Linked DNA regions of Homo sapiens: all the other regions are linked to region 1. The links are contacts of gene promoters, found by promoter capture Hi-C in human tissues and cell types (Jung and others, 2019). All regions are on one chromosome and are shown on one strand. Each heading gives the region's core, a stretch centred on a gene start or on the middle of the fragment in contact. The rest is flanking DNA. Distances are from core to core; before and after follow the strand shown.

Region 1 (3,537 bases), core at 87-2,586:
TGTCGCCCGAAGGACGGATAGGGGAGAGAGGGGCTGGGGGAGCCCTCCGCGTCTCTCCACCGCCCCTGCCGGCGCAAGGGCGGGAGTGGAGAAGGCGCCACTCAGACTGTGGCGCTGGGCAAACTGCGGTCGCAGTTCTTCCAAGTTTGCCCGAACCAGAACGCGGAGTGAGCGCCCGGCTCGGCTCTCCGTCTGCGCCTTGCAGCCGCCCCGGAGTGACCCGGGCTCCCTGGCCAGCCGGGCCTGAGCCATCAACTAAGGGGTAGAAGGGCGCGAGAGCAGCGGGAGGCGGGAGCCAGGGTGCTCCCGCGTGTGCACACAATGAGGCGGCGGAGACGCACACCTTCCCCCGCCGAAGAAGCCGCAGGAGCATCCGCCGCCCAACACGGAGACGCGGAGTCCCATAGCGGTGGCAGAAAGTGAGCACCAACTCAGCAACAGGGGGAAGGAAGGGGACGCCGGGCGGCCAGTGGGACGTGCGGCAGCCGAGGGCTGCAGCCTGCCCCTGCAGCGCGCCCGCGCTTACCTGCGATCTCCTGGTAGGGGATGTCCGCCAGGCTGAATCCCTTGGCACCGTACGCCTGGCGGACCTCTCCGCAGCTCCGAGCCTTCACATCCGCCCCGGCGGGGAGGGAGAGCAGCAGCCCCAAGAGGGGAAGAATCACAGCCCCGATCCAAGAAGGCATGGTGCAACATACAAATCCAGCTCGGTAAACCCCACGGCCGGTGCGCTCTTCACCTTGCCCCTCAAGCCGAAAGCCCGCCAGAGGCAGCGGCGCGCTCCTCGCCGCTGCCCAGCGTCACCCCCTTCTGCCAGCCGAGGGGACGAGCAGCGCAGCCCTCTGGACTGCGCTCAGCAAACTTTTATAAGCCAGATGGACGATGGCAAGCCAACAAGGGCTGGCTGGGAAGGCTGCTGCCTTGCTCCTCTAGCCCCCAGATGGAAACGGTGCAATCAAAACGAGGAAGAGAAGGAAAAGAAGTGTTTAAAAAACCACCATGGGGGTTCAGAGCTGCAATCCGAGTTCCGAGCCGCAGAATCCTGGAGCGCTGCGGGCTCGGCTCGCCGGAGTGTGCGGCAAAGGTGGGAGCGCGCGCCGGCTCCCCCGGGAGGGAGATGGACAAGCGAGAGCGAGTGTGTATGCGCGCGTGTGTCTGTTGGTGTGAGCTCGAGGTTCTTGGGGATGTGTGTGCGTGGAGGTATGTGTTGGGGATATACGAGATCTAGGGGAAACCTCAGCTTAACACAGGCTGTGGGAGCCTGTGAGAGTCCTCCTGAAATAGGAAGAGAGAAATCCTGGAGACAGTCACTGGAGGCAAGAGGGAAGGAGAAAGGAGGGGGGAGAAAGAAACGTGCTACACATTGCACAGCCGAAATTCACAGGCCGAGTCAAAGGCAAAACCTGGACTGGATCTCTTCCTAGTCGGTAGAAAGGGGAAAAAAAGAAAAAGAAACGTACCTATTTTCTTATTCACTTCACATCCTTTATACCGATCTGAAATGACATCAATAAACAATCTAGAAAGACAAGGTAATTTTAAGTCATTAACATGTTATTAAGCTGTATTTTTATGGAGGTAAAGGATAACGCAGTTCCAATTGTTGCTCTTAATATGTGTCCCTGACCTACTGAAACACAAAGCCAGAGTGGAAATAGTCATAGACGGGAGTTCATGGGTGGCAGAGCACAATCACGGCTCTAACTAGTTGCCTAATTTCTGTTTGACTTTGTTTTTTTCTAAAGGCACACATTACAGACTGGTAGTTCTTAATTTTTAAAGGTTTGGTTCTAGACTCAACAATTTCCCCTTTTTTTATTTCAAATATCTCATAGCCTTCGATCAGAAATCATTATGCTTAGGTTTCTAATGTGTGGAGGATCGGGAAAGCTAACAACCAGACCACAGAAGCAACAAGAAAAGGAGAGCACAAGGGTCAGAGGTGCATAAAGGGACATAATGGGGGAAGGGAGGTGATTCCTTCCCTCTCACTAGATGCCCTCACATAGTAGACTTAACATTTTCTTCCAAGTTAACATAATTCTCAAGTGGAGAATCAATCCAATTTCTTCTTCCTGTCTCCATTTACACTGATGTTCTGTGAACGGGATAAAAGTGAAAATTCAGGTTTGCCTAATTGACTTTGTTATGCTAATGGACGCACTAAAGTCAGCTGGCAGAAGTGTGTGTTGAAACCCAGAGCTCCTGAAACTACTAAGATAGTTTAATGAAAACCAAGACAAAATAATAATAATAATAGTGTTTATTCACTTACGTGGCTATGTGTCATAGGTCAGCACATTATTCACAAACTACTACAAGGTAATGCACAGTTTTGTGGAGCTCACCTATGAAGCTACACATGAAGATGTTTTCCTGATGATGATATGAATGACCAGAATGACTCATGAAGTTTAAATCTTTGAGTTTGTCATTATCATCACAACATATTAGGTACATTGTCTTCCTCTCTTTAATAAATTCCCCCTCTCCTAACCACCAAAAAGACTCTCAAGATTCAACCTCATTTAACCTTTCCAAACGCTTTAAAAATGAAGTCGACTTATTTACAGAGCCACTTTGTCTTCTTCAAACTCATAGGTCAAGACAAAACAAAACCAAAAAAAAAAAAAACAAAACAAAACAAAAAAAAAAACTCCATAGCTAAATCTTTCTGAAAACGCAACACACTTAACTTTTTTTCTCTTAAAATTTTAGCACAGTTTTTTGCTTTCACAATATTTATGCTAACTGGCAGATCTTAAATCACTGAACTTATTTTCCCTCAAGTCGGAAATCAAGATAAAATATATTCTGGTTATGTTTGTGGACAAACGGTGAGGTTGATAGGCTCAGGAATTGCAGTCAAGTTATTACTTCTGTCATATTTGACAACGTGACTTCCTTCAAACTTCTCTTTGTATCATAGTAAAGCATTATGCACTCCAGAGGAAGAGGGTAAAAACACACACTTCCTGTCCTACCACCTTATCCTGGGACTCATTGTAATTTACCCTGACTCAGTATAGCAGATAATTCATTATTTTAAATGGAGGTAAAGGAAGAATGGGTAAAAGCATAGTATATGTGGTTTTAAATTATTTGAAGATCAGCTAATTGTTAAGTATTGAATGAGCACTCAATACAACTTTATAGCACTAGACTATTGCACACCGTCCCTATACTTATAAAATGATCTTAGGATTTGTGGCAAAGATATTACATGAGACGAATGACTAAATAGATTAGTTTAATTCCATCAGGAGAGTCAAATAGTTTAGGGTAGGTTTGTGAACTCAAGTCAGACCAAAGAATTAGATAACTTGCTTTACTGGTGACCTTAACCCTGCCTGGTCCATTTGTTGAGTAATGTCACACTGTTTGCAGTGGTGTAAGAGACAAAGTCAAACATTCCAGTTAACACTGAGAGCCACAGCAGGAGCCTAGACAAGGGATTGGAATGAGAATGGAATGTTATGGAAGTTCCTGGAAGAGGCCTGACCAGACAGGAGAGAGGTCATATGGAGGAGCAGGCAT
Region 2 (3,439 bases), core at 301-2,800, 440 kb before region 1:
AAACACTAAGAAATGCAGAAAGTCCTTCACTAAACATATGTTTATGCACACACACATACACACACACAGTCTTTTTCAAATCCTTCCAGAAATGTCTAGGTACATAAGCGTATCCCTGCATAGTTATCTATAGACCTATATTAATATATGTAGAAAACCTCCACACACTTAAAAACACAAATGAGATAGTACTTTACATAGAGTGCTGCAAATTGATTTTTACATTTATCAATATATCTTGAACTTCATTTCAAATCAGTTCAATTATTTTGCATGGCTGCATGGCTGCATATCATTATGGATATACCATTACTTATTTACTATTTTTGCCATTGGTAATTGGGTGTTTTCAGGTTTTTGCTATCACAAATAACAATGCAGTAAACATTCTTATACTTAAAGGTTGCAGATTCATGGGCGTGTATGCCTAGGATAAATTCCTAAAGTAGAATTTCTGGGCCAAACAGTAGTGTGTGAAGACAAGTGTGGGTGCTCTACCCTGATAGCTGATTGGGCCTCTGAAAATAATGAAGCTACATTCACTTTGAAGAGAAGTATATGAGGTTTCTTCACATTTTTTCAACACTGAGAATAACAACTGTTTAAATTGTTGCTGATATGACAGTTGAAAATGTGAATTATTATTATGTTTACTTTAATGTCTGTCAATTTAAGAAGATGTTCTCTAACAGAAATTTTTAATTCAGAATACTTGGCATTCTCTAATCCAAGTAAAAAGAAAAATGTTTAGAAAGTGGCTTGTGTGCCAGGCGTGGTGGCGCATGCCTGTAATCCCAGCTACTCAGGAGGCTGAGGCAGGAGAATTGCTTGAACCCGGGAGGTGCAGGTTGCAGTGAGCCGAGATCACATGACTGCACTCCAGCCTGGGCGACAGAGTGAGACTCTGTCTCAAAACAAACAAACAAACAAAATTGGCTTGTGTGCAGAGTATGCTTCCTGAAGATGGCAATAATGATAGAAACATGTGTAATAGTAATGACACTGGAAACATCATGGGTGTTTCACTTATTTGTTTCTATCAAATGGTATGTTTTTCTAAAAAGCCATCCATCTACATTTGCCAAATCAGTTTCCCTTAACAAGGGAAATGCTCTGATTTCCAAAAATAATAGTCTACCTAGTGACAAATACCTGTATATGTGCTTTTCTTAAGTTAAAAAATAAAAACGAAAAAGTTCACTGAATCCCATGCATTTTTTTGTTTATCTGCAGCTAACGGGCTTTTTAAAAGCATGATCTTGAAAATTAAAAATGCAGTTTACATGGCTGAATAATCACAGCAGGTGATTACTATATATGGAGTTTGAGAATTGCTCCCTACCTTATTAAATTATTTCAAAGTACTTAGAATAAATTTAATTTAGAATAAATTATATAGTTATATCCTTATCATTTTTTATTGTTTACCAAGTAAATTTTATTTCCTAAAAGTGTTACAAACATTTTGAGCAATCTTCAGAACCATATAAAATAACACTGTCAGTATTATTCTAACATTATACAGAACAACGACTAATGCTGAGAGTGTTACTCAAGTCACAGATCTGGAAAAAGACCAAAATCCTGCTTTGAGGACTTCCATGCTCTTGCCTCCTCTAGCTCTAGAATTTTAGAATAATAAAATTTGGTTTTGGTAAGGAACTTATAGCCTAACTGGTTCAGCTACTTCTTTTGCAGGTAAAATCACTTCATTTTATGCATTTTTACCTATACATCTAGCACAGTCCTTGCTATTAGTGGATGATTCTATTTAATAGAAAGATGAAGTGACTTGTCCCATTTTAAACAAACTTCTTGTTGTGTAGACAAGAAAGCTGTGGAAGATTGTCTAGATTACGTTTCCTGACCCTGAAGTTACTATTTCTGTTTTCATCACTTCAAAAGAAGGTACAATACAATTTTACATTAACAAAAGCAACTGCTATTATTGCATTTAAATCTCAAACATAATATGATTAGATTAACTTTAAAATCCATTATTATTCAGAGACGGATCTGTCTTAGAGGCAGATATATCTACTCAGACAGAAAGGGGATATAATAAGACTGTAAACACAAAAATTAAGTACATAAGCTTAACAGACCTTTAATAATCTGTCTCAGCATCTGCTAGATTTTATTTAAAAAGGAATTTATTATGGGAGAAAAGTCACTTCATATATGAACATCAACTTGACACATAGTTGTAAATGCATCTTCTGCCCAAGGTGCCATGCTATGGGCTATATGTGATTCCAATTCAAAACAATTATATGATAAGGTCCAGTGAGTTGAACAGTTCCATGTGAAAATTACCTGTATTACTTTATAAAACTTATCAGGAAAAAAAATTATAATAAGTCATAGGAGGCTTTTTATGTCTAGCTTTCTGTTCTGTACTGTCAGTCTCTGAACTCCTTAAAAATTGAGATTTTTTTTTTTTTTTTTTTTGCAACCAGTCACTGGCACAGGGTATTTTCAAAGTAAACATTTGTTAATGCCTAGGTGAATGAATAGATCCCACCAAATGTCATTTTTCTATCACAGTGATTCGCAATCCTGGCTGTATATTAGAATCACCTGGTTAGCAATAAAAATAATGATATGCTCACCTGACTTCACCAGAATTCTGATTAACTCTATTGAGTAATCAGGGCACATGCCTAGGTGTTTTGTTTTTTGTTGTTGTTTTAAATTTCAATTTTTTTTCTATTTCATTGATTATCCTGGTGTCCCATTAGGAATTATTCCTAGAAGAATATCAAGTTCAAGATATTACAAGACATAAGCAAATAGGGAATTGCTGCTTGGAGACACATGCTTGGTGGAAAATATACCCAAACTAGCATTTCAATTTAAAGTTTAACTTGAAATGTAGAAGTTTTTTTTTTGTTTGTTTGTTCGTTTGGCTTTTTTTGAAAGACGTCTCGCTCTTGTACCCCAGGCTTGAGTGCAATGGCTCAATCTTGGCTCACTGCAACCTCCGCCTCCCGGGTTCAAACGATTCTCCTGCCTCTGCCTCCCAAGTAGCTGGGATTAAGGCACCTGCCACCACACCCAGCTACTTTTTGTATTTTTTAGTAGAGACAGGGTTTCACCATGTTGGCCAGGCTGGTCTCAAACTCCTGACCTCAGGTGATCTGCCCACCTCGGCCTCCCAAAATGCTGGGATTACAGGCGTGAGCCACCACCCCCAGCCTAAATGTAGAAGTATTTTGATAGCTCTTTCCTTTTTCCTCCCCGCTCCCTACCTTCCACCATAGGTACTGTTAGTTTTCAGTGATAACACATTAGCCCGAGTGACTTACTACAAGAAATAACATCAAATGCCTTATGTATTTATGAATAACAGAAAACTCAAGATGCAGGAAGGAAGAGAAACATATATGAAATTCACAAGCCTTGGAGAGCACAAGCCTGGGGCCAAAAAGCAGAAACA
Region 3 (3,069 bases), core at 210-2,709, 410 kb after region 1:
CTTATCCTCTTTTTACTTAGATTAAAGGCTTTTAGTTTTAATAAAGAATTATTTTTTAATAAAGAATTATTTATAAAGCATGTGACATAAGTAACTAAAAGGTTTTGAATAAATTTCAAAATGTGGGCCAGTTGCGGTGGCTCACGCCTGTAATGCCAGCACTTTGGGAGGCCGAAGCAGTTGAATCACCTGAGGTCAGGAGTTCGAGACCAGCCTGGCCAATATGGTGAACCCCATCTTTACTGAAGACAAAAATTAGCCAGGTGCAGTGATGGGTGCCTGTAATCCCAGCTACTCAGGAGGCTGAGGCAGGACAATCACTTGAACCCAGAAGGCAGAGGCTGCAGTGAGCCGCGATCGCGCCACTGCACTCCAGCCTAGGTGACGGAGCGAGACTCCATCTCAAGAAAAAAAAAAAAAAAAAATGCAATTTAGGCAAGATGTCCATCCATTACCCATTACCCAGGTGGAAAGTTTTGTAGAAATGCTAGTTTCTAATCAAAATGTCCTGCTGCCACAAGGTTTATTTTTTCATTCAGAATATTCAAGAGACAAATTAAAAAGCCCAGAATATTTTTTCATTAAAACCTTGTTCTTCTGAGTGACTTATGATTAACTAATGTGGTTTGAAAGACTCAGTGGGCATATAAAGTATACTAAAACTGTTTGTTTCTTGGAGTCAATTTTAGCCCTGTTTCTCAGACCTTCAGTGAAACGGTATACTTTTATGACTTCAAGAGAGCCCCAAGAAGAAATAAATATGTTGGCTTAGAAAATAAAATTTCCAAAGAAGCATCAATGAATACTAGAAGAGTTCATGAAATTGGATACCTATGATAATAATTCTGATTAATTTTTCAAAGATTAAATATAGTCAAAATTCTGTACAGTAAACCAAATAGTTTGATTGATGCTGATATTTTATTCAGTTGAGTAGGCATCTTACAGACACAGCCTTAAAACTTAGAAGGCTATGTAATCAAAAAGCTGTACTAAGTCTTAATGTCATAGTAACATATAGTTTTGGTGAAGGACTTAAAAAATCAAAAAAGTATGTACCCAAACCGAAATATTTGAAAGGATATTGATGCTTTAGTATTCTAGGCAATTGGAATTGTAGATTTATACTACTTTTTCCTGCTGCAGAATTGTAGATTTATACTACTTTTTCCTGCTGCAGAACAACATATTCATATTTTCTGCTTCATTGTAACAGCATTTGAAAGTTTGTGTATGTGTGGGAAGTGGTAGGCGGAGGAGAATGGGTCTGAATAATTAAAAATAAGTATGATAATTTAGAACCAGTAATTTATTTTTATTTTCTATATTGGATCTTTTTAGGGATTGCATTGTTCTTCCAACCTTAAGCTTCTAACCTTAGTATTAGAATCCTTCAAGCAGGTACTAGGTGAACCAACCCATTTTTGGTTATAGGTTTCTAGACCGGGAGTGGGCAACTGATTTAGAGAACATCACTATAGAGGGTAGATTGATTGAATCCAGATATCTCACCCAGGAATTTGAAATTGGGACATATAGAGACAGGGTCAATTATCTGTGGAAACTGGACATGGAGTTTACATATTTCAGAGATTCAAGGCACATGTTGGCAGAGTCAGGGCAGACTATGTGTAATTAGAGAAGAGGAAACCAGGATGAGACTAAAAGCCTTCCATTCTTGGTTCTGTCCCTCAGAAAGCCTGGAAGCACTATGTACCCTGAGTTTTGCAAGATACTCTGGAACTCCCAATATATACTGTTTTCTTTTCAAGGTATTTTCAGAGAGTTTCTAGTTTTTGAAACCAAACCATCACTGACTAACGTATAGAACAGTACAATTAAGTGAAAGCAAGGTGAGAATGAAGAAGCCAGTGCTATTCAGGAACAGTTGCAAAAGAGTCTCAGATCATGACAGATCACACAGGCCATGCTCAATGTAGCTAAATCTTTCCGAAATGAGTAACTTTCCCACCAGGCAACTAACAAATCTCAAAACCCCTTAGTGCTAGTTTTCCTCTTTTCTTTCATTCCCCATGCTCAAACAGCCAACAATATTCATTATTGTAATTTATAGACAATGCAACTGAAACCCAAGGGGGGAAATCATATAGCTCAAGTCTATGGATCTGGTTACCAACAGACCCAGAGTTACATGGCTGAGTTCCATGACCTATCCAATAGCCCTTCTAATTGTCACTTTACTTTTATGGCTATGCCATAATGAAGTAAAACAGAATGAAAATTATGTATAACAGACACATTGAGAAAGTGTATTCCTCTTGAATGTGAGCAATTTGGATACATTTCAGAATCTAGTCTTTGGCCTTCTCTATCAACTTTCATTAATGACTTGAACTCATCTGGTCCTGTGGCTTTAAATACCCTTCATGGGCAAATGACTCCCAAATTATATTTATAGCTCTGATCTTTCCCCAGAACCCTAGGGTTTTATTTCCCACCGTTTATTCAACATCTCCAACTGGATGTTTAATAGTTATCTCAAATTGATAGGTGCAAAGCCAAATTCTTGATTTCCATCTCCAAAACTGTTTTTCCCCTATGTTCTCATTTCAGAAAATGGCAGCTCAACTCAATAGTGACTCGGTTCCAAGCCTTGAAGTGATTTTTTACCTTCTCATATTTCACATTCAATCTGCCGTGCATTGTATTGGCTCTGCCTTGCAAATATGCCCCAAACCATACCACTATTCCCACACCCCCACCCCTTGTACAGCCACAGGAGTCCTGGCCACCACCATTGATTGGCTTCTACTGTCTTTGTATAGTCTGTTCTCAACACTTCTGCCAGAACATTTTTCGATACATACAACTATAACTCCTGTAACTTTCCTGCTTATAGTATTCCACTGGTGTCAGATCATATATAGAAAAAAAAATCACAGAGTCAGCAAAGCCTGTGTAATCAGGCTATGACTATTAGTCTGCCCTGATTTCCTCACAATTTTCTCCTCTGATTACTTGCTTCATCCACGTTGACCCCTCGCTCTTCCTCTAATACAAAAAACTTTCTTGCCTCAGGATTTTGTATTTGGGGATTGTTCTGCCTGG
Region 4 (3,190 bases), core at 436-2,935, 500 kb after region 1:
ACAATGTATGAATTAAAATGGTTCGAAATTTAGATTCATACAGAAATGTCAAAGTTGGCATTCAAAAATAGAACAGTACAATTATGTTACCCAGTTATTTAAGTCTGTTCCAGGAAAACATTAAGATAGTGACTGCATTTTTAAATAATAACAATCAGTGCTGTATTTTATGTGTCAACATTTAAATTCCTACCCCCGTTTTCCTAGAAGTGGAAAGTATTTTAATACAAGAAATGTTGAGGCTTTCTCTGTTTTTCATGTTGGATGCGTTCTGAAATTTTAAGTTCACTAAATTTCTCTATGTTTTGCTTAAATCTATTCTTCTGAACTAAACTTGGAAATAATGTATTGGCTGAATCATGGGGAATCCACAAAAAAATTAACATTCAATTTCTTTGTCTATCCCTATACATTCAAGACTGCTTAACTAATAAGAAAACTATAGAAATATAAAAGAGATTAGCAACAAAGCAAGATATAAGCACATTAAGGTCATCCTAGGGCTGAAACATTTCATCAAAAAAGATATGCTCATCAATCTTTCCTAGAGGCATGTAGAAGAGAAACTGTCTTTGACTTCATAATGGTAAAGAAATCAGTTCGTTTATAAATGCCTATGGCAAATAATGCATTGAGAGACAAGCTATGTATGAGACAAGTAGTTGTAAAAGGTGAAATTTTTTTGTCATTCTATGGTACTTTCTTAGAAACATTGTAGTTCTACATTTTTAAAACACCATAGTCCAAAGAGTTAAGTTACACCAATTAAAAAATCAAGAGTCGGCAAACAAACAAAAACATGGAGAGATTTTTTTATAAAGCATGAACAAAAGCATACACATTTTTATGTGAGGTGTGAATACTGACTGAGACAAAAAGTAGGAGATAGTAAACTGACTGTTAGAGAAGGTAGAAATGCAGATTGAAAGACCAATATGATCGAGTAATGACAGAATAAAGGATGGTGAAGGTAGTCCAAAGGAGGCTGCAGTCTAAAGAAAGCCATCTCCAATGAAGTCTAGAAAATGAATGGAGAGTCAGCAGAATCCATTAAGGGTATGTTTCTTTTCAGAAGTGAGAGGGTAGGGAGCACAACTCTGCCCAGCAAATGAAGCTTGAAAAAGTGTCTACTGAATTGAGAATGCATAAAGAAGACAGCTGATAATGAAGAGATGAATTTCTTGGAGTTTCTGTCAAGATTGAATGGGGCCACTTGTAATATTATTATCGAGCTTGTGAGGCATAATAGGAAGTTAAAGGTGGACACCCATGCAGAAATCAGTTGGAAAGCAGGCTTGATTTCTGGGAGGTCTGTGATGAGGCAAAGGAAAAGCATTTTGAACAACTTCAACATCTGGACTGACAAAAAGAAATGGAGGAAGTAGAATCATGTTTACATTAAGTGAGCCCTCTTAGTACAGAAACCAACATCTGGCTTTGGTTACATTTATCTGAACATAGTGAAAATGTTTGAATTAACCCAAAAAGATTAGACTAAATTTCATAATAGTGTTTACACAGCAAAATAAATGACAAAACAGATACATGGAAAAAGTGTCTGTTTACGCACACATTTCAAAGACCATGGATATAGCACCCCGAGCTACATTATCTTAGCGTGGTTGACATAAAACAGGGCTCTGCATAAACTCCTAATGATGGCTATTACAAATTGTGTTAAGCTAAGGTGGTTTAAACACAGATATCCCATGCCTTTTGTTTACTGCTATGATAAAAAGAGTCTGAATGCATTTCTACTAAAATTAAGAGGCAACATTATTAGGAAGTATATTTAAATTTTATGTTCCTACTATCAATAGCATTTCAGGTGACACCTTTATTTTTTGGAATTATAGCTCTCACAATAAGTTTTCTTTTATCCCTCTTTTCTCCATAAACAAAAATATTTGGAGCTTTGATTTGTTAGTACATTCAGAACGAGTACTTATTATCTTCACAGAAGTAACCTCAATTTTCCTTGGCCATATTGACTGGGTTTCATAAATATTATGGACCACTTATATGTAGTTTATAGCTTAACTTTGTTTCAGAATCCAACTTTTGCTCTTATCATTGAAACACCTGACTTTAACCAGGGATCAAAGGCAAGTAACATATGATCAGGAACAAGATGTGATCACCTATCAAGAAAGTGAGTGCATTTAAGTGGAATAAACAGTTAAATTTTGGAAAAAAAGTTTTATTCCTTTATTAAGAAATAGTTCAGGCTGGGTATGGTGGCATGGGCCTGTAGTCTCAGCTACTTGGGAAGCTGAGGTGGCAGAATCACTTAACTCAGGATTTCAAGGTTTCAATGAACTATGTTTTCACCATTGCACTCTAGCCTGGGTGATAGAGTTAGATCCTGTCTCAAGACAAACAAACAAACAATAAACAAACACAAAAAAATAGTACAGAATTCTTGGTTCTAAAAGAAACAACTAGATTTAAGAGCAAATATAAACATTATTTTTCAATATGTTGATTCCAGGTATGGTAAACAAGATCTAATTATGTAGATCAAGGGTGTTTTGAGTTAATAGTTTCAGGAGATCATGATGGGAAGAGTGCCTAAACTAAACATGTGGGATACCAAGCCTGAAGTGGGAGAGAGAATTCAGTTAAAAGCATCACCTTTTCCAGGACCTTACAAATCATCTCTTTTCTGGAGCTCTGACTCTACTCTTTAGCTCTTTGGTGAAGCAGCTGAAGCTTGTGTCAAAAATAATGTGACTTTTGGCAGAGAATAAAAGACCTCACCTAGAGCAATATTCAGGATGGTGCATCAGTGCTGGAAGATGAAGCCTGATACAGTTCAGTCATTTCAGGAAACACTTGTGACCTAGCATGCAATGTGCTACGCTAAAAGTCAGAGGGCATCATTAATATACCAGTATTTGAAAAAGAAATTCAATAGCAAGTCATGTTCTACTTTCAGGTTATATTAGGAGTAAGTGATTAAAGGTCAATAACAATTTCATCCAATTTAGATCTAAATTTTTCTCAAATTCTATGTTTAATAACTCCAGTGAAGAGCTCTATTTTGATCATTCCCAACTAGTTCAAAGTAATGCCCAATTTTTTGTTAAGATTTAACATGAGAATTTGAACGTGTGATTTTTATTTTCATTTTTTTGTATTTTCATTGTTTATATAGTTGCATTTTGGATTATTAACAGTTAAAAAAATG
Region 5 (3,468 bases), core at 405-2,904, 470 kb before region 1:
TTGTCAAGATAAATGAAATGCAGTTGGAAGTTCCATGGGAAATAAAAGCAGCACATGATAATCATAAAATAAATATAAAGATGAAAGCATGTTATTGTTTTGAACAGTTGATGGATTATAAGAAAAGGGATAGTTGATCTTGATGCTTAGAACATTCTCTTTTGAATGGCACAGACTTAGTTCTGGAGTGTTATGTATGATCTAATCAACGTATGATCTAATCACACTCAAGGACTCTGCAATTTATGATATTTATATAGTCATAACATTATTTGTTAGTTCTAAAATTTTGGAACTAACGTATGGACAAAGTAATGGACGGTTAATTGACAGTACAGAACAGCATTTAAGTTTTGTAAACTATGCTAATTCGTTGTCTAACATATATTTGTGGCAGGTATTGCTCTAATAACTGTGGATTCAACAGCAAAAACCGACAGAATGGCTGGCCATGTGAAAGTTCACATTAGTGGGAGAAAAGTAATCAAATTAGTAAAACAGATATAGAATTAAGTTGGATAGTAGTAAATGTTATGGCAAAAAATAAAGCAGAGTAGTAACAAAGAGGAGTGAGGGTGCATGGCTATTTTATGAAGGGATGTAAAGCAAGTGCTCTGAGAGAGGAAACTTTCATCAGAATCCTAAATACCAGAGAAACAGCCATAAAAAGGCACTCTAGCAATGCATCCAATGACCAGTGCATCAGGTAATGGTCTCTCATGTTTGAGTCCCAGCAAGAAGCCTGAGTCCAGAGAAAAGGCAATGGGTGAAGGGAAGTGAGAGCTGATATCCAAAGGAAAGGCTGGGGCCAGGTATTATCAGTAGGGCCTTGCAGGTCATGCTAAGGAGCTTGATCTCCTGAACATGATGCGGGGATGATTTCATCAAGCAATCCTATACAAATTGGGGACTGGGAGAGGAAGAAGATGTATGGAGAAAGGGATTCCTTGGGCTATACAGCAGGAAGGCAAGAGACACTGTTCAGAAGTTGATGACTCAAGAAATACAGCTTTAAAATATCATTTAAAGTTACGGAGGTGGCCAGGTGCAGTGGCTCACACCTGTAATCCTAGCACTTTGGGAGGCCGAGGTGGGCAGATCACCTGAGGTCAGGAGTTAGAGACCAGCCTGGCCAACATGGTGAAAACCCCGCCTCTCCTAAAAATACAAAAAGTAGCTGGGCGTAGTGGTGGGTGCCTGTAATTCCAGCTTCTAGGGAGGCTGAGGCAGGAGAATCATTTGAACCCGGTGGGGCGGAGGTTGCAGCAAGCTGAGATCCTGCCACTGCACTCCAGTCTGGGCAAAAGAGCAAAAGAGGGAGACTCTGCCTAAAAAAAAAAAAAAAAAATTTATGGAGGTAACCAGTATAAAAGTTTTGTTGCTGTTGTTTGTTTTTTGTTTTTGTTTTTTAAAAAAAAAAGGAAAAAAAGGGGGAGGGAAGAAAGTATAAATGAGTTCATTGTTTATTCTTCATAGCTAATGATGAAGTTATATAAAACAAGAAAAGGTGTATTAAAATAGTCCAAATAGTAGTTAGACTAAGATTGAGAAAAGGATTGCTAAATTTCATTGCTTATCTTTATTTAGTATGTGGATTATTTCATCCTGTCCATGGCTTTCATGACATTTTAGTTTTAACTTTCGTTAAAAGCAATACCAAAACTCTAAATATTCAAAGTTTGTGAAGTTGAGAGGAGAAAATTTACATCAGTTGGAAATGATGCTTTCTGTCTTATCAAGCACATTTACCACAATTTGCCAGTTGAAAAGCCGTATTAGAAATCATAAGCATAGAAATATAACATTTTCTTGGATTATAATCTCATTACAGCATGTTCGCAGAGACTTATCTCAAACCTAAAAACACATATTTCCATGTATTTGGGAATACATTTCAAAAAGGAAAAATGTCAAAAGTCTTTCTACATGCTGTTAGCATTTTTATGTTTGCAAACACTGCATTAAATTGATTTTGAAGACATTTTCTGGAATTATTTTCTTCTTATAAAATCTGGATGATACTCATAATTAGATAAGAATTCATTATCATCTTTGTTTATTCCTGCCTACCTTCTAACTATAAGAACAAAAATGGGTGGAAAATAGGTTCAAAACCTGCAGAGCATAATAGAAGTGAAAATAAAGTACCAATTAATATCAGCAATGTCACAGTCACCTCCAAAATGCCTTTGAGCTCATCATTTTTGACATAGCTTGAAAAAGCTTGAGTTGATTACCAAAGGAAAATGAATGAAAGCATATTTTAAATATCCATTTTTCATCTTACACTATTTTGCATTTTTGGAGTGGAAATGTTTAAAGATATTTTTTAAAAAATCTAAGAAATATTGTGCCAATATGTATTTTGAGAGAAAATTTACTCAAAAGATACTTCTTAGTATCTAAAACAAAAGTGTATTTATAAAAGTTATTTTCAAATCACTGTTCCCTTATACATCAAAGGATTATATGATGCTTGAAAGTACACGTTGAAATAAATATTTAAATTATAATATTTAATATTTCTAATATTCATGTGTAGTTTTTCAAGTTCATTTCAATTCTCTATTTTGTTGGTTTAAAAATGAATAGAAGTGCTTTTTATTGAATGTTAAAAAATAACATGTTGGAATATTGTTATTTGCATTATACCTACTGCTGTCAATCTGAGAAACACAATTTTAAAAAGTAAGTAAATCAATTTCTCATTCTGCTAGCAAACATATTTTAGGGTGATTTCAGGAAGTATTTTTATAATAAAAAGTGGAGGCTCAGTAAACTTCTAAGTAAAGTTTATTCCATAAACTTTCATTGCTAAATATTTCATAAAATTTTATTTATTTATGGACTCATTTCTATGACTATTTTCTAATTGAACAAGCTTGATTATTCTTTTAGCACAGATTTAACTCACATATGCATCGTTTCTGAGCAGTTAGAAAATTTATTTAATGTTATGAGATTCCATTCTAAAGAGGAAGTTTATGATTAGAAGTACAAGGATGACTTTTTCATCATTTTCCAGAACAGAGGTGTGATTTTTTTTTTATTATTTCAAAACAGGCTAATTGAGAACAACTGAGATTTTGGTCAAGGCCCAGTGAGAATGACAACATAGGTGAATGTTGTTGAGGCTGATCCTGGGGAATATCAAGTGTTAGTTAAGTCAAAAAAAGAAAGGCAACTCAAGCTTCAGCAATGTCATCTTCAGTGTTTGCCTGAGAGTAGGACCTAAAGGTGCTGATACTGCCTTGTTTTCAATAAAGTTGTGCGGTGACAGTAACACAACTCAATTTATTCTTCCGAAGCCTGCATCTGGCACAAGGCCACCAGTGATGTGTAACTCGGTTTAATCACATTGGTCAGTCTTGGATTAGGCAATCTTGCAAGGGTAAGGCATTTTGTGAGCATTACCACTTTCAACAGCTTTCAACAGTTGGTGTAGAGTCCAGGTATCAACTTTGACTG
Region 6 (3,390 bases), core at 357-2,856, 390 kb after region 1:
ATTAGATACCAATTATCTCTTTATACATTTTCTCTAAAATACATGTACATTTTCTTTTTTGTAGTTTGTAATTTGGGGTCTCTCAGGCCAACATTGCATGTGGGAGAACAGACATTAGACGTTAGGAAGAGATATTCTCATATTCATCACTGCCACACTCTTTGTCAACCTGTGAAGCAATCTATTAGGAATTGTATTGATTTTTTGAAGCATTTATTGAACTCTCATCCTTTGACTCTGTGGGAAAGTACTTGATTATAGTCTAACTTTATAATTTCTATCTAGATACATGTTACTGATGCTTGTGAGTAACTTTCCCCTTAATATGAGTTTGGAAGTCAGAGTTAGTAGAAGCAATTTTTGGATGAATTGTGTAACAATACCCATTGGGATAAAACAGTGGTACACTTCAGTTCCGCTTTTAAAATCTTATAAATTACCATTTTTTAACAGGTTGGAGTAAAATATGCAAAGTTTTTTCTTACCATTGAAAGAGAAAATAAAAATAATTATCTTGTGAATAAATGACAAGGCTTTATTTCATGAATTAGGTATTGTGTTAATAGACAAAGTGTTTTTCATTTATTAGCTGCCAGGAAGTGAAATCTTCCTATTCCTCCTCTCCAATCAATCACGGAGTCTCGCTAAATTTGTTTTCTGTCTCTTGAATCTATCCACACCTGTCCAGTCCTACTGCCATTACCCTAATCCAGACCATTATTGGTGCTTTCCTGACTTCTGAGCTAGGGCAACAAAAATTCAAATCAGATTATATTGTCCTACTACTTAACATCCTTCAGTGAGTTCTATTTATCTTTGGATGAAATCCAAACTTCTTCTTATGTTTTACAAAGCCTTCTATAATCTTGTTCCTGCCTCTCTCTCTAACGTTAACTCTTACGGATATACTAAATTTCCTTTAATTATGTTAAAGCTTTATAGTCACATGCTATTCCCTGTGCTTGGAACAATCATCACCTTCCCTCTCTCATCTTTTACCCTTGCCAACCTGTGAGGCTGTCTGTGATCTCCTTGTCTAGCTTAGCATTTTCTGCAATAATGTCCCATAATACCATGTATTTCCATAATAAGTATTACAATAAAATACAAATAACATTGCATTATAAAAATGTGAATAGTATCTGTATCAGCTCTGACACAATCAGTTTAAGATAGAACAAGGACAGCTGTATCTTTTTATTGCCATATTTCACAGTGCAGAGGATAAAGAAAAACATCAATTTTTCAAAGAATGAATGCATTAATGAACAAGTGAGTGAAGAATATATATATTATCTATTTATGCAGATTTTCTAAAATCTATTCCACAGTTAAACAGATTGTCAGAGAACTAGGTATTTGGATGACAACACTTTGACTCTATCTATATCAATTTGTTTATCTGAAATCTGCTTGGGTGTTACGCTATCATCTTGCATATTGTTTAACTTCTTAGGAGGTTGTGTTCACCCTATTACATTAGTCACAAGGGACAGCTGGTTTCCTTTTACTTATATAGATGCTGTGAATCATATAAGTAAGTAATCTAGCCTCCCTCTTTCTGTTGGCTTCTGAAAAGCTCAAATTGAAATATCTATCTGACCTCTCTCAAAGATGCTAGGTTTCAAAGGAATACATTTTATATATTAACTCAAACCCAGCTTTTATTTTAATTTCCAGTAGTCTCTACTTCATTGTTAGATGTATCTCACTGTGCTAAATTGTGGGTATTTTTTTGTTTTGTTTTGTTTGTTTTGAGACGCAGTCTCACTCTGTCACCCAGGCTGAAGTGCTTTGGCAGTCTCGGCTCACTGCAACCTCCGCCTCCTGGGTTCAAGTGATTCTTCTGCCTCAGCCTTCCAAGTAGCTGGGATTATAGGCACCTGCTACCATGCCCAGCTAATTTTTGTATTTTTATTAGAGACAGGGTTTTACCATGTTGGCCAGGCTGGTCTCGAACTCCTGACCTCAAGTGATCTGCCCACCTTGGTCTCCCAAAGTGCGGGGACTACAGGTGTGAGCCACCATGCCAGGCCAAAATTGTGGGTATTTTTGGAAGCCACTTTGCATCCTCCAAGCCATGGGAAATTTGGGTTGGAGTAAATGAGGAGGTAAGGGAGTCAAGGGGTACCAAGAGGAATGAGCAGGTTCTAAAATGTGTAGACTTCTTAACTGCACTAAGCAGCATTTTCACCAAGGTGATAATGAGTACATTAAGATACAGTAACTCCTTTCTTAAAAACCTTGTAATAGCAGTAGTCTATTTTAAAAAGATTAGTAAGAAGTTTTAAAAAATATTAGAAATACAAAGAAAAATATTTTTATTTCAGTAATCTCCAGGAAATCCATTACATATCTGGTTGGAAAGTTACTCCACTGAGTTTGTAGAATTTGTGTTCTAGTTTTTAGTTCTTCCATCTTTATGGATGCCCAAATTAATGCCAAACTCAAGAAGAATTCCTTAAGAAATTCAGGCAGACAAATGCCATGTTGATCTTTGAAAACTCACAGTTTCTTTGAGCTTTATGTTTAAGTAAGTTAACGTTTTAAACGTGTATGTCAATATAGTTAAATACTAATGATCTCCTCCTATATCCTTTTGAGATTCTATTTTTTTATCTAGACCATCATTAAAATTATTTTAGCATTGTCTAAATATGCTACTAACTTACTTTGTGACATTCTTTAAGTCATTCATTTCCTGGCCTCAGTTTTTTCATTGAAAAAAATAGAATGAATAAATTCTAGGAGTGCTTTAGTAAAGAACATATATGATTGGTAAGCCCATATACCTGTACATTAATGGATTTAGGGATGAGTGCATGTTTCAAACAAGGCCAATCAGAGTACTTTTCTGCTCAGGTCTCAAAAACACAATCATCATTACTTTGTGCACATAAATTGTAAGGGTAATTTACTGATGCTATTTATGACCACCTTACTTGGCCACATGGAAGAAACCACTGAAAATGGGAAGGCAATCAACAGGGAAAGAAAATCGTATCTTAGAAATACAGAGAGAGCTCAGATAACATTATTGGAGCTCCTGGATCCAGACACACCTGAAGTCAGACATCTTTGTGGGCTTTTCTATCACATGGAATCAATATGTTCTTTATTTGCTTGAGCTAATGCTTTTTGTTTCTTGCAACTCAAAGAGTCAAGACTATTAAAGTCTTTGTCTCTATGATTCTATGATGTCTTCATACAAAGACTGCTAATAGAGTAACTTAATAATTGAATAATCACTGAAAACTGTCCAATAATCCTGATAACTTCTTCAAATATTAAGATGTGTAAGAGGAGGATTCTTAGTTAATGGAGTTTACAATCTGAAAATGGGAGTAATGTTGTAATAAAGTATTATGGAACAAGAAATATGATTTAAAT
Region 7 (3,275 bases), core at 668-3,167, 430 kb after region 1:
CTTACTCTAACTTTTTAACTTTATACCTGTTTAAAGTTTTTAAACTTTTTGACCCTTTTGTAACAATGCTAAGCTTAAAACACATTGTATAGTTGTACAAAATATTTCCTTTATATCCTTATTCAATGAAATTTTTTCTATTAATATTTTTTAGTTTTACATTTTTTAAATGTAAAACTAATTTTTATAAGTAACATTTAAAAATGTAAAACATGCACATTAGCCTAGACCTAGACAAAATCAGGATCATCAATATCACTGCCTTCCATCTCTACATCCTGTCCCACTGGAAGGTCTTCAGGGGCAAGAACATACAGGAAGCTGTCACCTTTTATAATAACAATGCCCTCTTCTGGAATAACTCCTGAAGGATTAACTTTAAAAAAAATTGAAGGAGTACACTCTAAAATAACAATAAAAAGTATAGTGTATTAAGCACTCAAATCAGTAATATAGTCATTTATTATTATCAAATATTATGTACTATAGATAATTGTATGTGCTATACTTTTATGTGACTGGCAGTAGGGTGGGCTTGTTTACACCAGCATCGCCACAAACACATGGGTAATGTGCTGTGCTAAGATGTTACAACAGCTAAGATGCCACCAGGCAATAGGAATTTTTCAGCTCCATTAAAATCTCATGGAACCAGTCGTATATGCAGTCTGTGGTCGACCAAAATGTCTGTATAAATATAGATATGTATATATATCTATAGGTATATGTAGGTAGACTGTATAAATATAAACAAGCACACATGTGTTCACATAGTCATGGGTTGCATAACAATATTATACACACACACACTACACACACACATACACACACATATTTTGTTATATAGAATGTACATAAAATACATTTTATACCTAATTTGTTACCCCCAAAAAGCTAGTTTTCTTTTTTTTTTCTTTTTTTAGTAACATCTAGAAACCAAGAATAATTAGGGAGAATTTCGTAAATTTTGAAATGGTCTTATATTCTTGTTTGTAATATCTGTTGACACAACAATATACAAGCAAGAAGGTCATCATTTAAGGGAATTTAAAAGGGTTAAAAGGATAGTAACGATATTATTTTAGGGTTGCAGAATTTAACTTTCCGTCAAGGTAACAAACAACACCCTAAGGTATTATTATTGGGAACTGAGAATATCAAAAGTTAATCCCTTATTCTCCTCTTAATGAACTCTGTATCAATGAAGAAACCATTCATTGCTTAAGACTCTTCCCTTTATTATAAATTGAAATGAGCCTTCTAGATAATCATAGGAACCTTCACAACTTAGCTTTGCAGCATTCTTTGCTGTATCTATTTCTTTTCTGAACCACCTGTTATCTTCATTCATAAAGCAGGAGCAAGATCCTGGAATGTTGGTAATTCCAATTTTCACAGGGTTCGTTAGTGGAAAGTAACACTCAGAATGATTTAAGAATGCTTTTACCACAACATGCAACACTTACTGTTTGGGCAGAGCTTTCATGTTTTATGAATTGCTGGGACATGCTTCATCTCACAAATAAACATCTTAAATGCAGTGTAGTTAGGGTTTGACTTGAGCAAAAATGACCAAAGGAAGGGTTTGTGTTTGGTTCTTGTAAAATGACCTTCATAGTCTCGAGAAGGGGAGAGGCCATGTAGCATGCACCGTAATGTTATGCCCATCTTGGGATCTCAGAAGGCAGTTTATTAATGTAAATTCTTTAATGAATACCAGTGATTGAAAACTATTATTTTACAGTCATGTATAGTTATTTTACATGGCCATAGCTTCTGCAAGAAGGCTGTGTGTGTCAGAAGTTTGGGAGCTTTGAACATGCAAACCAAATACTTGGATGAAAGTAAATTGTTTTGAGATATTTACCTTCTGTGGATGGAAAAATAAAAAGTGGTTATCTAGTCATGATATGAATATCTAGGGCTATTACTATCTCTCTGAAACTGGAATTGATAGTAAGGTGAGAACTAGCTAACATATCTTCACAGGAATATTCTTAAATTCTAGCAACATGATATAATGAAATGAAAAATTTGAATCAGAGCCGATTCATCTGTATTTTTGTGTTCTTCCCTCTTCCTTGACAGCACAAATTATTTGGATGCACATTTATCTATAGTGAAATGTTAAAGAGAAAGGAGAAAAGCGACTGATAGACATTCAAAAAGCAGTGTGTGTGAAGGGAGAGAAAAAGGTGGTTTCCTTGATAGGGTTGACGACATGGTAGTATTAACACAAACAGTCAAACCCAGGCATTGGTAAAGGACTAAAGAATCACAATTGTAAGATGGAAACCCACAGAAAAGACTCCTCTGAAACTTTTTACCCATTTACACCTATCATTCCCCATTTTTCAACTGATTTTACTTACACTTTATTTTCAATGTCTTGTGCTTTTAAAATAATTTTTCAGACATTGCTGCTTTCCTCTTGTTCCCATGTAAATTTTCAGATGCCACATGCACCATTTCTTACTATCTTTTTATAAAAATTGAGACCTATTTATCCAATCAGTGATTATGTGTTATTATGGTAATGAGTAAAGAACAATATCTAAATTATGCAGGCATTAAATAATTTAGAGTGAATAAATACATAAAGAAGTCTGCTAATTTAACATATAAATATTTTATATTAATATGTGTCTGTTTGAAGTTACACAGTAGCTTTATCTGAGATTTTTAAGTGGATGAAAGGAATGTTTTCTGGATAACAGGCATTTCAGAGTATGTGAAATTAACCATAAGGCCAGCCACCTTCCCACTTACGTATTTGTCAAAAATATCTAAATATCCTCATTTACCACAGGAGAGGGGTAGCAATCTCTAAGAGTGACTTTTGTTTCATTAAATGAAAAAAAAATCAGTCTGATCATAAGACTTGCTAATTATTCAAACAGATTGCTAAGAAAAGTGGAAATATTTTCTGAAGATTTTTCTAGTTTACCAGTTTGTGATCAATTTCATGCACTCTTTCTTGGAGACAAAGAAAAATATGAGGAATCTAAGATATTACGTATTGTAATACTGGTGTTACTTAGAACAATTGTTGCAAATCATAAAACTACATTTAGAGTTTTCGTACAGCAGTCAATATGTGTTCATAATTAAATTCACGTGACTTACAATTTTGAGTGTTTGGTATTTTTGTTTGCTTAATATGCTGTATGACCATAAGTTAGAAACTTTTTAATGCTATGAAAGGAAAAATTGCAACAGCCTGATTTGAAAGGGAGGCTTTAGTTTGTAAAGATTAAAAATAACAGCAAGAGAAT

The links. The method cuts DNA at HindIII sites, captures the fragments that hold promoters and counts their contacts. A contact is called where the count stands out against the background at its distance.
Region 2: a fragment that was not itself captured here is called in contact with the fragment with the promoter of GPC6 in region 1 in 4 of the 25 tissues and cell types used here (heart left ventricle, heart right ventricle, mesenchymal stem cells and 1 more).
Region 3: a contact is called between a fragment that was not itself captured here and the fragment with the promoter of GPC6 in region 1, in 1 of the 25 tissues and cell types used here (mesenchymal stem cells).
Region 4: a fragment that was not itself captured here is called in contact with the fragment with the promoter of GPC6 in region 1 in 1 of the 25 tissues and cell types used here (mesenchymal stem cells).
Region 5: a fragment that was not itself captured here is called in contact with the fragment with the promoter of GPC6 in region 1 in 1 of the 25 tissues and cell types used here (lymphoblastoid cells).
Region 6: a fragment that was not itself captured here is called in contact with the fragment with the promoter of GPC6 in region 1 in 1 of the 25 tissues and cell types used here (heart right ventricle).
Region 7: a contact is called between a fragment that was not itself captured here and the fragment with the promoter of GPC6 in region 1, in 1 of the 25 tissues and cell types used here (dorsolateral prefrontal cortex).

The regions. Positions count from the first base shown.
Region 1 is chr13:93,224,606-93,228,142 of GRCh38, reverse strand. It overlaps GPC6 (glypican 6), which reads right to left and starts at 1,336. Exons shown (of 9, transcript NM_005708.5): 1 at 527-1,336. The coding sequence starts at 686. RefSeq lists enhancers at 1-743, 3,150-3,537. The HindIII fragment of the contact is 15,285 bases long and covers 1-3,537 here.
Region 2 is chr13:93,662,108-93,665,546 of GRCh38, reverse strand. All of the region lies in intron 2 of GPC6 (glypican 6), which reads right to left. Among named protein-coding and RNA genes, the nearest start is that of GPC6-AS2, 190 kb to the left of the region's middle. The HindIII fragment of the contact is 6,919 bases long and covers 1-3,439 here.
Region 3 is chr13:92,815,366-92,818,434 of GRCh38, reverse strand. All of the region lies in intron 7 of GPC5 (glypican 5), which reads right to left. Among named protein-coding and RNA genes, the nearest start is that of GPC5-AS1, 95 kb to the right of the region's middle. The HindIII fragment of the contact is 5,870 bases long and covers 1-3,069 here.
Region 4 is chr13:92,725,593-92,728,782 of GRCh38, reverse strand. The region is part of intron 7 of GPC5 (glypican 5); the gene reads right to left. Among named protein-coding and RNA genes, the nearest start is that of GPC5-AS1, 5.6 kb to the right of the region's middle. The HindIII fragment of the contact is 3,123 bases long and covers 124-3,190 here.
Region 5 is chr13:93,694,495-93,697,962 of GRCh38, reverse strand. The region is part of intron 2 of GPC6 (glypican 6); the gene reads right to left. Among named protein-coding and RNA genes, the nearest start is that of GPC6-AS2, 160 kb to the left of the region's middle. The HindIII fragment of the contact is 3,857 bases long and covers 1-3,468 here.
Region 6 is chr13:92,831,372-92,834,761 of GRCh38, reverse strand. The region is part of intron 7 of GPC5 (glypican 5); the gene reads right to left. Among named protein-coding and RNA genes, the nearest start is that of GPC5-AS1, 110 kb to the right of the region's middle. The HindIII fragment of the contact is 4,606 bases long and covers 1-3,390 here.
Region 7 is chr13:92,798,666-92,801,940 of GRCh38, reverse strand. The region is part of intron 7 of GPC5 (glypican 5); the gene reads right to left. Among named protein-coding and RNA genes, the nearest start is that of GPC5-AS1, 79 kb to the right of the region's middle. The HindIII fragment of the contact is 4,740 bases long and covers 1-3,275 here.